Regions from separate parts of the Homo sapiens genome. Here all the other regions are linked to region 2. Evidence: promoter capture Hi-C in 16 types of primary human blood cells and fetal thymus (Javierre and others, 2016). All regions are on one chromosome and are shown on one strand. Each heading gives the region's core, a stretch centred on a gene start or on the middle of the fragment in contact. The rest is flanking DNA. Distances are from core to core; before and after follow the strand shown. Region 1 overlaps HPSE2 (heparanase 2 (inactive)). Region 2 holds the start of HPSE2 (heparanase 2 (inactive)). Region 3 overlaps HPSE2 (heparanase 2 (inactive)).

What was found. The method cuts DNA at HindIII sites, captures the fragments that hold promoters and counts their contacts. A CHiCAGO score of 5 or more calls a contact.
Region 1: a fragment that was not itself captured here is called in contact with the fragment with the promoter of HPSE2 in region 2 in 1 of 17 cell types (naive B cells); the score reaches 5.1 in naive B cells.
Region 3: a contact is called between a fragment that was not itself captured here and the fragment with the promoter of HPSE2 in region 2, in 1 of 17 cell types (M2 macrophages). The highest score is 5.3, in M2 macrophages.

What each region holds. Positions count from the first base shown.
Region 1 is chr10:98,771,690-98,775,211 of GRCh38, reverse strand. All of the region lies in intron 3 of HPSE2 (heparanase 2 (inactive)), which reads left to right. Among named protein-coding and RNA genes, the nearest start is that of MIR6507, 150 kb to the left of the region's middle. The HindIII fragment of the contact is 516 bases long and covers 1,644-2,159 here.
Region 2 is chr10:99,234,284-99,237,911 of GRCh38, reverse strand. It overlaps HPSE2 (heparanase 2 (inactive)), which reads left to right and starts at 2,060. Exons shown (of 12, transcript NM_021828.5): 1 at 2,060-2,399. The coding sequence starts at 2,110. RefSeq lists enhancers at 482-982, 983-1,483. The HindIII fragment of the contact is 7,443 bases long and covers 1-3,628 here.
Region 3 is chr10:98,882,367-98,886,044 of GRCh38, reverse strand. All of the region lies in intron 3 of HPSE2 (heparanase 2 (inactive)), which reads left to right. Among named protein-coding and RNA genes, the nearest start is that of MIR6507, 40 kb to the left of the region's middle. The HindIII fragment of the contact is 543 bases long and covers 1,596-2,138 here.

The DNA of each region.
Region 1 (3,522 bases), core at 652-3,151, 460 kb after region 2:
GGATTGCAATTCTGCAATGAAATAGTTCCAGACTGGCCTAGCAGAAGAAAAAGAAAGGAAATCTAAGGAATGTTCTCTCAGCTCCATTTAATACTTTGGCTTTATCAAATTTGTGTGCTGTGTTTCTGCCTGTATCTCTCAGCATATGGAGAAAAGAGCCAGGACTCAGTTGTTTCTCCCCATTCCTCCAAGAAATCTTTTATATTTCCTCCACAGGTTGAAGCCTAGGTCACCAACAACACTAAAGTGTGTTTTATTTGACACTTGTGGATTCTATTGCCACTTTTCCATTTCCAACATACTTAGAATCATGTCAGATGAATATCTACAAAATGGAAATTTTTATTCAATGAACTCTAAAGAGTCCCACGATGAAGGAGATGGGGCAATGCAAGAGGAAAGGGAAAAGCCTAGGTACTTCTTGCAGGGAAAGGAAACACTGAGCCCAGTGGGGAAGACTACGTGTTCAGCTGCCAGTACCGGTTACTTAAGGTTGACATTTTCCAGATCTTACTTCAGGGAAAGCAACACCTGATTTCACTTAAAACTGCAGCATCTGCCCTGCTGCTTTTTCCTGAGCAGCCCCATGCCTCACCCACCAGATCCATGAAGACTGAAGGAATGGAGGATACAATTAGTGGGGAAGGGGGTTGGGATGAATAGGAACCCCTTGAGAGCCTCCACCAGATTTCTGATCTGATTGTGCAGCTGACTTAGGTTTCTCCCACATGGATAACACTAACAATACAGTCAAGTCCCAAGAAGCAAGAGAGAGAAAGAGAGAGCTGACACAATCATTTAAACAGAATACTACTTTTTTTGTTGTTTGTTTTGGTAGTGGTTGTTGTTTTAATAGCTGTGGATGTCTAGCTTCTGTTTTCTGCTTGATATATGGAGCAAATAGGAATTTTTCTCTTGAATATATTAGTCTTGCCAAGGAGAACTGTAAAAGATGATCAGAGCACTAATACTCAATTATTTTGTTCTTTTTTATTCTAGTCCTTACTGTCTCTCTGCTTTTACTGTGTATGTGTGTATAGATAGGAATGTATATATGTATTTACAGACATATGAAAATATGTTTTAAGTATATATATTTATCCAAAAGTTGATCCAAATTTTCTGATGTTGATTTTTATCCTTTTTTTGCTACAGGATGTCACTCCGTCACCCATACTGGAGTGCAGTGACACAGTCATGGCTCACTGCACCCTGCACCCTTGACCTCCTTGGGCTCAAGTGATCCTCCCACCTCAGCCCCCCAGTAGGTGGAACTACAGGCATGTACCACAATGCCTGGCTAATTTTTAAAATTTTTTGTAGAGATAAGGTCTCACTATGTTGCCCAGGCTGATCTCAAACTCCTGAGCTCAAAAGCAATCCTTTCACCTTAGCCTCCCAAAGGCATGAGCCACTGTCCCTGGCCTCAAAAGATAAATTTTTCTATAGTACCTTTATTGATTGAATTTCATCGTATAGATTTATTTATTCACTCTTCTTTTTAGTCATCCTCTCTGTTTGCCGTGAAATAAAGCTGAGATGAACATTCTTATGCACTTGTGCATCCCATTCTGATTATTTCCTCAGAAAAAAATTTTAGAAGTGGAGATTTTTAGTCAAAGCATATATACGTTTTTAAAGCTTTTGATACATATTGCCAAAATGTCCCTTTCCAGAAGTGTTTTTGGAGACTTATAAGGATGACCCAACTTAAAATTTCCACATGCAGATTGGAGTTTACAGCAGGGAATTACAAATTATAAGGGAGATCACTGCTATATATCCTAAAAGTATCTAGACCAGTTTAATTGGGTAGTTATATTTGAAGACTATGCAATAGTAAGTCCTATCCACCCTTCTGGACTGGCTTAGAGAAAGAAAGACAATCTGATAACTGAACCTTTGATTCTCTATTGATGGTGTATTAATTAGAGAAAGGAACCCACAGGATCCTAGAGCTAGTCTCATTTAAAAAATTATAGGAGAATATAAGGATATAATGTTGTGTACAAAAGTAGTTAAACTGTAAAGGAATAGATTCTTGCATATGTCCCTACTGAATTAAATACTTCTGATACTCAGAATGCCCTTGACTGCTGGTTGGAGGCTCCTATGCCTCTGGCTAGGATCTTGAAACAGATCACCATAGGAAGAAAGCTTTTAAATGGAGGGCAAGTGAAGTAGAAGTTAAAGGCCTCCAAAAGAAGAGGAAATAGGTCCTTCCTAATCAATCATAATTCTTTGTTGACCTCGTGAGCTTATTTCAGCCTAATGGAAGAACTGTCCTTGCAATTCTTGCCTTTCCTAGAAACCTTCAGTCTAATAAATTCTTGCTTAGAATTTCAACCTCCTAGCAATAACTCTCATATCAACATTTTTTGCTAATTATGTTTTTGCCTGTAGAATTTGTACATGGAAGATTATTTTTTGTAGTCATGTCCAAGGAATAAAATCTTTCTCCTTATTTTTCATAACCATTCTTGTAGTGAATCAAATCAGTCAATAAGTAATAGGCATCTAATTTGCATTAAGCACAATTCTAGGATTCCACTTATTGCCTGGCCTCCATAAATTCCTCTGGAATAAGGAGGGCATGATAATACTTTGGGTTTCCAGGTGTCACTGTCTGCTCAGAGCCTGTATTAAATATTCCTCAAAATGTATTTGTTTTCTCCTTTTCCTTAGTTTACAGTCACCTGAGTAAATGACCATAGGTCCCTTTGAGGAAGGAGAATTATAATATATAATGCTACAGCACCCCTCCTAAAGTCCTGGCCATGTCTTCAGTCAAAGGGTTCTGGATCTGCAAATTGGCTCGGGACCAGGGACTAACTAGCAAAGGATCAGGACTCTTGATTGGGGCAACCATCCTCAGTTTCCCAGTCATCCATTTTTGTCTTTTTTTTGTGATTACAGTTGTTAACTAACACTCATGTAGTCTGCTCATCTATTATATTTGCCCCTGGGGATGTCATGCTCTGTTAACCATTTGTGTAACTGTCTGCCAGTCAAGGACCCTTGGCTGCCCCTCTGACCTTGCTAGTCATTATAGTAATTGTAACTTTTTGGCTTCTGGAAGTTAAGCACCGACACCTAAGGCTCTATTGCTTTGCCTCTCCAACCACCATCCTTACGGTTATTGCCCAGTCCAAAACTGGCCTGCAGATAACAGCCATCACTGAACTTCTTAGTGATGCTGTGTGCCTCTCACCAGCACATTCCTAATGGCCTTAGCAAATGGTGTCCTTTGGGTTCTCCCCTGGAACATCCTCTGATGAATCTTCTGTCCTTATTAATATATCCATTCCAACCACTTCCTTCAGTCTCTTTTATACATACCTGTCTTTACCATCTGCCAGGGCAACTCAGGTACTTCTACGTTGCTCAACATGGCTATTACTTTTTGCAGACCTCTAAAAGTCACCCTAGCAGGGAGTTTGCCCCATCCACTGGGATCCATGCCAGAGTGTTAAATCCCACATCTCAAGAGAGTAACCTGAAGTCACTGAATTCTTGGTTATC
Region 2 (3,628 bases), core at 811-3,310:
TTACTTCACAGAATTTATTGAGTGCCTACTAAGTGCTCCAGTCTGGGAACACAAAGGCAAAAGTGTTTGCCCGCCAGGCTGTTGCCATCTCTAAGAGGTGCTCAATACATACTTAAAAATTACAAGAATTTCGACTGAAATTTATGTCACACCACACACCCATACACAGACACACACACACAGTTTAAAGGATCTAGATGTCTTAGAAATGTTCAGGAACTGAAGGAAACAGGCCTTAGGGCTGGAGCCAACATCCAATACTTCACTATGTAACAGCTTGATTTAAAAAAATCATCTTTAAATAATATGACTTGCATTTGCTTTCTCCCATATCCTCATCTTATGCAGTCCTATTTCTAGAAGGTCGTCATGGCGCTTCACAGATGAATGCAACATAATCTCGATTTCCTGGGTGCTTAGGTTGGTAGAGGCTTTTCAGGGAACTTCAGTTGAAGGTCATCTATTCCAGCTGTTTTCAGATTTGTTAATCCTGGTCTGGGTGGAGGTAAGAGGATACAGGTTGCTATTACAGCGTTTGCTGGGCTTTAAGACTAACCCTTGTCCATCCACTTCTGGGGAAAACCCTTGCTCTGCATTTTAGGGTTTTGCTTGTTTGATACCAAGGAGGGCCCTGGACGCTTCTGCGTTTCTGACTGCCCGCACTACATAAAGTAGTTCCCTTCATCTGCCAAGTAGAAGTCCCATTTTGTCTCAGAAAGAAGCCGAAAGTGGGGCCCAGCAATGTGACTGCAGCAAACTGTGCCTGATCCCTTTCCCGCGCTTCAGGATAGGACCTAGAGTTCAATTTGCAAGCTGTTGTGGGGTGGAAGCTCAATGAGCAGCGGCGGGTCGTGCATCACAGCGGCTTCCGGCTGTTATTCCCCATCCAGGGCTATGTGACTCTGGTTTTGACTGGGGGCCGAGATGGAAACCCGAAAGTGTCACTATGGTCCCATCTGGCACTGTAAAGGCGCACTTCCCTGCAGGAGGGCTAAGTATAGGATTGACCTCCAGGAGGGTCTGGAGGGGGGACTCTACCTGTGCAGCAGAATAGAGTGGCCAAGAAGTGGCACAGTTGGACGCAGAGCCGCCCTGACTATCCAAGCACAGCTCAGGTAGCTTCGACTTGGCCAAAGCCAGCATGTATTGACGCTCCCAAGACGCTTATTCCTCGGTTGCGGGAAGAGCAGAGCAGAGCGAGGGCGCATGTCCCTTTTGGCCCTCGGATCGGAAAAGCTGCTTGACCAGGTCACTATGTTTTTCCTTCTTGCTACTCTTTGCCCTATGGAGGTCAGAGGATGCTTCGGTGTGGCTATCCAACGCGTCACAGAGATCAGGGCTCCTCTTCGGGGAATGTCCTTCAGGGCTCTATGCTTTGACAGGAATCACCGCCTCAAGACCCCTCTGCAACTTAACCGCCCTTGGTATTGCTGCTTCAACCAGAAAAGGGCCCTGAGCGGACGAAGTGCCTGACGCTGTCAGGAGAAACAAGCGTGCTGTCGGTGGGAACTCTATCCCAGCGCGTCCCGGGTTGGCGCTGGGGCTTTCGGGTCGGAGTCGGAGCTTGAACCGCCCTCCAGAGCCTCTCAGGGAAGGACGTAAAAACGAGACCCTTTGCTCTGTACCCAGACGGTACAACGGCATGGTTTGGATTCCTCCCTCTGCTTCCTGACCCTAGAGGGTTAAATTAGGAGGGTACAACGCCACCCTTTTCTCCTCCTTCCCGCCTGCTCCCCTCCCCTTACCTTTAAAAAGTTAAAAAATGTCTGCAGTAGAAATCTCTTAAAGGGGCGGTGCCGGTGTACGAGTTCTCTTGGCAAGAGTCACGGGGAAGGCTGGCTAGGGGCGTGAGTTCGCTCCACCAGCACCAAAACACTGAAAAAAAAAATTAAAAAAAATTAAAAAAAAAAAAGAAAAAAACAAAACGAGCGAGCGAGCGAGCGAGAGAGAGAGAGAGCGGGAGAGAGAGAGAGTGTGTGTGTGTTGGGGGGGTGGTGGGAGGAAGGGAAAAAAAGGGGGGAAAAAGGCGGACAGACACACACTTTAGATAAGGACAATTAGTCACTAGCGAGACCCAGTAGGAAGAGAGGTTTAAATCAGAGGGATTGAATGAGGGTGCTTTGTGCCTTCCCTGAAGCCATGCCCTCCAGCAACTCCCGCCCCCCCGCGTGCCTAGCCCCGGGGGCTCTCTACTTGGCTCTGTTGCTCCATCTCTCCCTTTCCTCCCAGGCTGGAGACAGGAGACCCTTGCCTGTAGACAGAGCTGCAGGTTTGAAGGAAAAGACCCTGATTCTACTTGATGTGAGCACCAAGAACCCAGTCAGGACAGTCAATGAGAACTTCCTCTCTCTGCAGCTGGATCCGTCCATCATTCATGATGGCTGGCTCGATTTCCTAAGGTAAGGCAGGGGTTTCGATGGATCATTTAAAATTTTTTAGTAACACCCCCTCAAGCCCTTCCTATCCCCCATTCCAAAGGGGAAAGAAGAAAATAAGCCAAGCAGATCTCTCAAAGAGAAGAAAAGAGGTTTTCCTTCTCCTGGATTGTGTGCTGTGAGGCTGTAACTAGTGATTGAGAAAAGCAATGTTTTCTATTAAGATGCACATGTTTGCAATGCAGAAGGCATTTCAGAAACTTATCAGTTATGACTGAAAAAATGTTGTGCTTACATATATCCACAATTAGCCTTCCCGTCTACTTCTGAAAAAGAAACAAGAGGTTCAGAGCAGTTACAAAAGCGAAGAAAAGGTCTCAAACAACAAAGAGCTGAAAGGAATGGGTATGTGTGTGTGTGTGTGTGTGTGTGTGTATGTGAGACAGGAGAGTGTGTGTGTGTGAGTGTTCAAGCGGGATTGCACGAAACTGGAATTTTCCACGGAAAGATCGTTTCGTCAGTTCTCTCCCACTCTCAGAAAACGAATTTAAGCAGAGGCTTGAGTGGTGGGCAAGTTGGATCGGAGTTAAAATTTTTTATTTTATATCCTCCGCTGTCATTTCCAGACTTCAGGACTTTGTAAGGCGCTTTTTATAGACGGAATGCCCCCCTCCCCCCGCCAGTTCCTCCTCCTTAAATCTCCTGCGGTAACTGCACAGTTTAGCTTTTCTTTAAAGGAAAAAAAAAATCCTCGCTGGGGTCACAGCGTTATAAGGGAAGCGGTAAGAGTCCTAGAAATACTCCAGGGAGGCTTCGGAGATCTGAACTCCGCACCAGCAGATTAGCAAACCCGGAGGTTTGTGATCCCCTTTGCTCTAGGGCTTGTAATCTAATTGGGCTCACACTCTTCCCGGGTTGTTGCAGTTTGGCAGTTAGGCAACTGCGATCCCTTCCCATCAGGGACAGAGTTGCAGTGTAAAATAAGAAATAAATCCTCTGCAATGTCGAATCCAAGTGTTGAGTTTTTAAAAATTCCCTACAAGTTGGAGCCTCAGCTGTGGGTTCCCCTCGAAGAGCCCTCAGCGCTCTCAGTCCCACTTTGCCCCGAGGCCAGGTCCGTTGTGCGTCCTTCGTATTTTTCACTCCTTGCGAAATTCGAGTTTTGCTTCTTGAGGTGCGCCCGCCTCTCAGCTCTTGGGGTTGTCCCCCTGGCCCGGGTCGGGTCTGCGGACGCGGCAGGTAGCGGGAGGCGC
Region 3 (3,678 bases), core at 618-3,117, 350 kb after region 2:
TAAAAAGATGCTCATAAATTGACTATGAATTTTTTGGCAGATAATATGGATACTAAGAGGGTGTTTGTTTTTCAATAGCTGGCCCTTCATCTAAACTTTCAACACCTTTCAGATTTTATACTGTCTCCAGATTTCACCATAGTAACAGAGATGAAAGTAATTTGGATGGAGACCTGCCTCAGAGATACACAGGTTTGGTCCTAGACCACCAAAATAAAGTGAATATCTCAATAAAGCAAGTCATATGAGGTTTTTGGTTTCACAGTGCATATAAACATTCTGTTTATACTGTACTATAGTGTATTAAGTATGAAATGGCATTATGTCTTTAAAAAGTACATACATTAATTAAAAAAAAACTTTAGTGGCAAAAAATGCTGACAATCACCTGAAACTTCAGTGAGTTGTAATGTCTGTACTAGTGGAGGGCCTTGTCTCTATGTTGACAAATGCTGACTAATCAAGGTGGTGGTGGTTGTAGGTTGAAGTGGCTGTGGCAATTTCTTAAGATAAGACAGCAGTGAAGTTTGCCATATTGGTCAACTCTTCTTTTCATGAAAGTTTTCTCTGTAGCACATGATGCTGCTTGATAGCATTTTACCCACAGTAGAATTTCTTTCAAAATTAAAGTCAAACTCTGCAGTTGCTTTATTAAGCTTATGTAATATTTTAAATACTTTGCTGTCACTTCAACAATGTTCAGAGCATCTTCACCAGGAATAGTTTCCATCTCAAGAGACCACTCCCTCTGCTCATTCATGAGAATCAATTCTTCATCCATTAAAGTTTCATCATGAGGTTGTTGCAATTCAGTCACATATTCAGGCTCCACTTCTAATTCCAGTTCTTTTGTTATTTCTACCACATCTGAAGTTACTTCCCCCACTGAAGTCTTGAACCCCTAAAAGTCACCAATAAGGGTTGGAATCAATTTCTTCTAAACTCCTGTTAATGTTGCTATTTTGACCTCCTCCCATGAATCACAAATATTCTTAATGGCATCTAGAGTGGTGAAACATTTCCATAGGTTTTCAATTTGCTTTGCTTAGATCCATCAGAGGAATCACTGCCTATGGCAGTTCTGGCCTTACAAAATGTATTTCTTAAATAATAATACTTGAAAGTCCAAATTACTCCTTGATCCATGGGCTTCAGAATGGATGCTGGGTTAGCAGGCATAAAAACAACACAAGTCTCTTTGTACATCTCTGTCAGAGGGATCTCTGCAAGGGATCTAGGTTGTGTGCTCCTTACGAGAATCTAAGTAATGCCTGATGATCTGAGGTGGAACAGTTTCACCCTGAAACCGTCCTCCTCGCCAACACCCCACTACCTCCACCATCCATGAAAAAATTGTCTTCCACAAAACCAGTCCCTGGTGCCAAAAAGGTTGAGGACTGCTAGAGTAAACCATGCTGTAAACAGATGTGCTGTCATCCAGGTTTTGTCATTCCACTTATAGAGCACAGATGGAGTAGATTTTGCATAAATCTTAGAGAACCTAAGATTTTTGAAATGGTAAATGAGCACTGGTTTCAACTTAAAGTCCAGCTGCATTAGCCCCTAACGAGAGAATCAGCCTATCCTTTGAAGCTTTGAAGCCAGGCATTGACTTTTTCTCTCTAGTTATGAAAGTCCTAGAGGGCATTTTCTTCCAATAGAAGGCTGTTTCAACTACGTCGAAAATCTGTTGTTCAGTGTAGCCACCTTCAACAATTACCTTGGCTAGATCTTCTGGAGAACTTGGTACAGCTTCTACATCAGGACTTGTTGCTTAATCTGGTACTTTTATGTTCTGGAGATAGCTTCTTTCCTTAAACCTCATGAACCAACTTTTTCTTCAGCAGCTTCCTCACCTCTCTCAGCCTTCAGAGAATTAAAGAGAGGTAAGGCCTTGCTCTGGATTAGGCTTTTGCCTAAGGGAATTCTGTGGCTGGTTTGACCTATCTAGACCACTAAATCTTTCTCCATATCAGTAATAAGGTTGTTGAGCTTTCTTATAACTTCTGTGTTCACTGGAGTAGAAATTTCTATTTTCTTCAATAACTTTTTTCTTTACATTAACAAGTTGGCTAACTGTTTGGTATAAGAGGCCTAGCTTTGAGCTTTAGCTTTAGACATGCCTTTCTCACTAAGCTTAATTGTTTTGAGCTTTTGATTTAAAATGAGAAACATGTGACTCTTTCACTTAAACACTTAGAGGCCATTGTAGGATTATTATTTTATTTATTTTACTTTTTAGAGTTGGTGTCTTGCTGTGTCTCCCAGGCTAGAGTGCAGTGGTGCAATCATAGTTCACTACAGGCTTGAACTCCTAGGCTCAAGCAATCCTCCAGCCTCAGCCTCCCGACTAGCTGGCACTACAAGCACATGTCATTATGCCTGGCTAATTTATTTGTATTTTGTAAAGATGGGTCATGCTATGTTGCCCAGGCTGGGTTTGAACTCCTGGCCTCAAGTGATCCTCCTGCCTCAGCCTCCCAAATTGCTGAGATTACAGGTGTGAGCCACCACACCCAGCCAAGATTCTTAATTATTAGCTAGCTCTAAAAGTTTCTAGCCATTTTGGACATTGAAAAACTCTGCTTTATTACTACTGTAATAAAAGCTGTTATTAACTTACAGTGAATGTCTATGTTTTTAGAATAATTTTCATAGAATTATAAAGTTTCTTGGCTGAAAGAATTTTAGGTTTTAACTATCTTTCAAGCTAACCATATTTTCCATATGATTTTGGAATCTTCTTTATAACACCCATGCCTTGTGGTCACCTAGGTATTTACTTGGATACAAGCCATCATTGAGAAGTTTTTACTGTTAAAAAAGTTTTTTTTTAAATTGTGCCAAAATGTATATTCCTTTGATCTCTCAACCCACTACCTCTACCAAGGGTACCACATTTTTACAACAAATAAAACAAATCTTGTCTCTCTCTTCCATATGATAGCCCTTCAGAGCTAGGAAGATGGTCAACATATGGCTTTTCCTCTCCATGCAAAACTGCTCTTATTGCTTTAAACATTGATCACAGGACATGTTTGGGCGGAGGTGAATCAGACTGATAAAGTATACAATCTTCGGCATCATACTCTGAAGGTTCAAATCTTATAACAACAACCTGCTAATACTGTGATATTTGCATAGTTATTATCTCCTCTGTATCTCAGTTCCCCAAACTGTAATAGGGAAATTGTGTTTATTCCATAGTATTGTTGTAAAGAAATAGATAAATAATTCGTGTAGAGCACTGGGCTAGATTAGACAGTCATTGTTCTGAACTTCCCATAAACTCTCTGTGTTAAAATATTTTACATTTATCCTCTTTGCCACTATGCTGGGCCTGCCACTGTGAGTAGAACATACTTTCCTGTCTCATTGATGTTGGGTTTAGCCAAATGACTTGCTCTACCCAATGGAATGTTAGCAGAAGTGATATAATGAAAAACTTTAAACATACTTGCATGGTTTTCTAGTCTCTTACACTCTAATGATCTTCTATAAGAACATGCCCCAGAGAGTCACTAGTACAAGGAAAATAAGAAAGCACACAAAGCTGATTCGAACCCAGTTTACAATCTGAAGCCAAGCCTAGCCTATTTCAGCCATATCCAGCAGAGCCGCAACTGACTCATGACTTTTGAGAAAAAAAAAATATTGTTGTAAGTCATCGAGACTTTG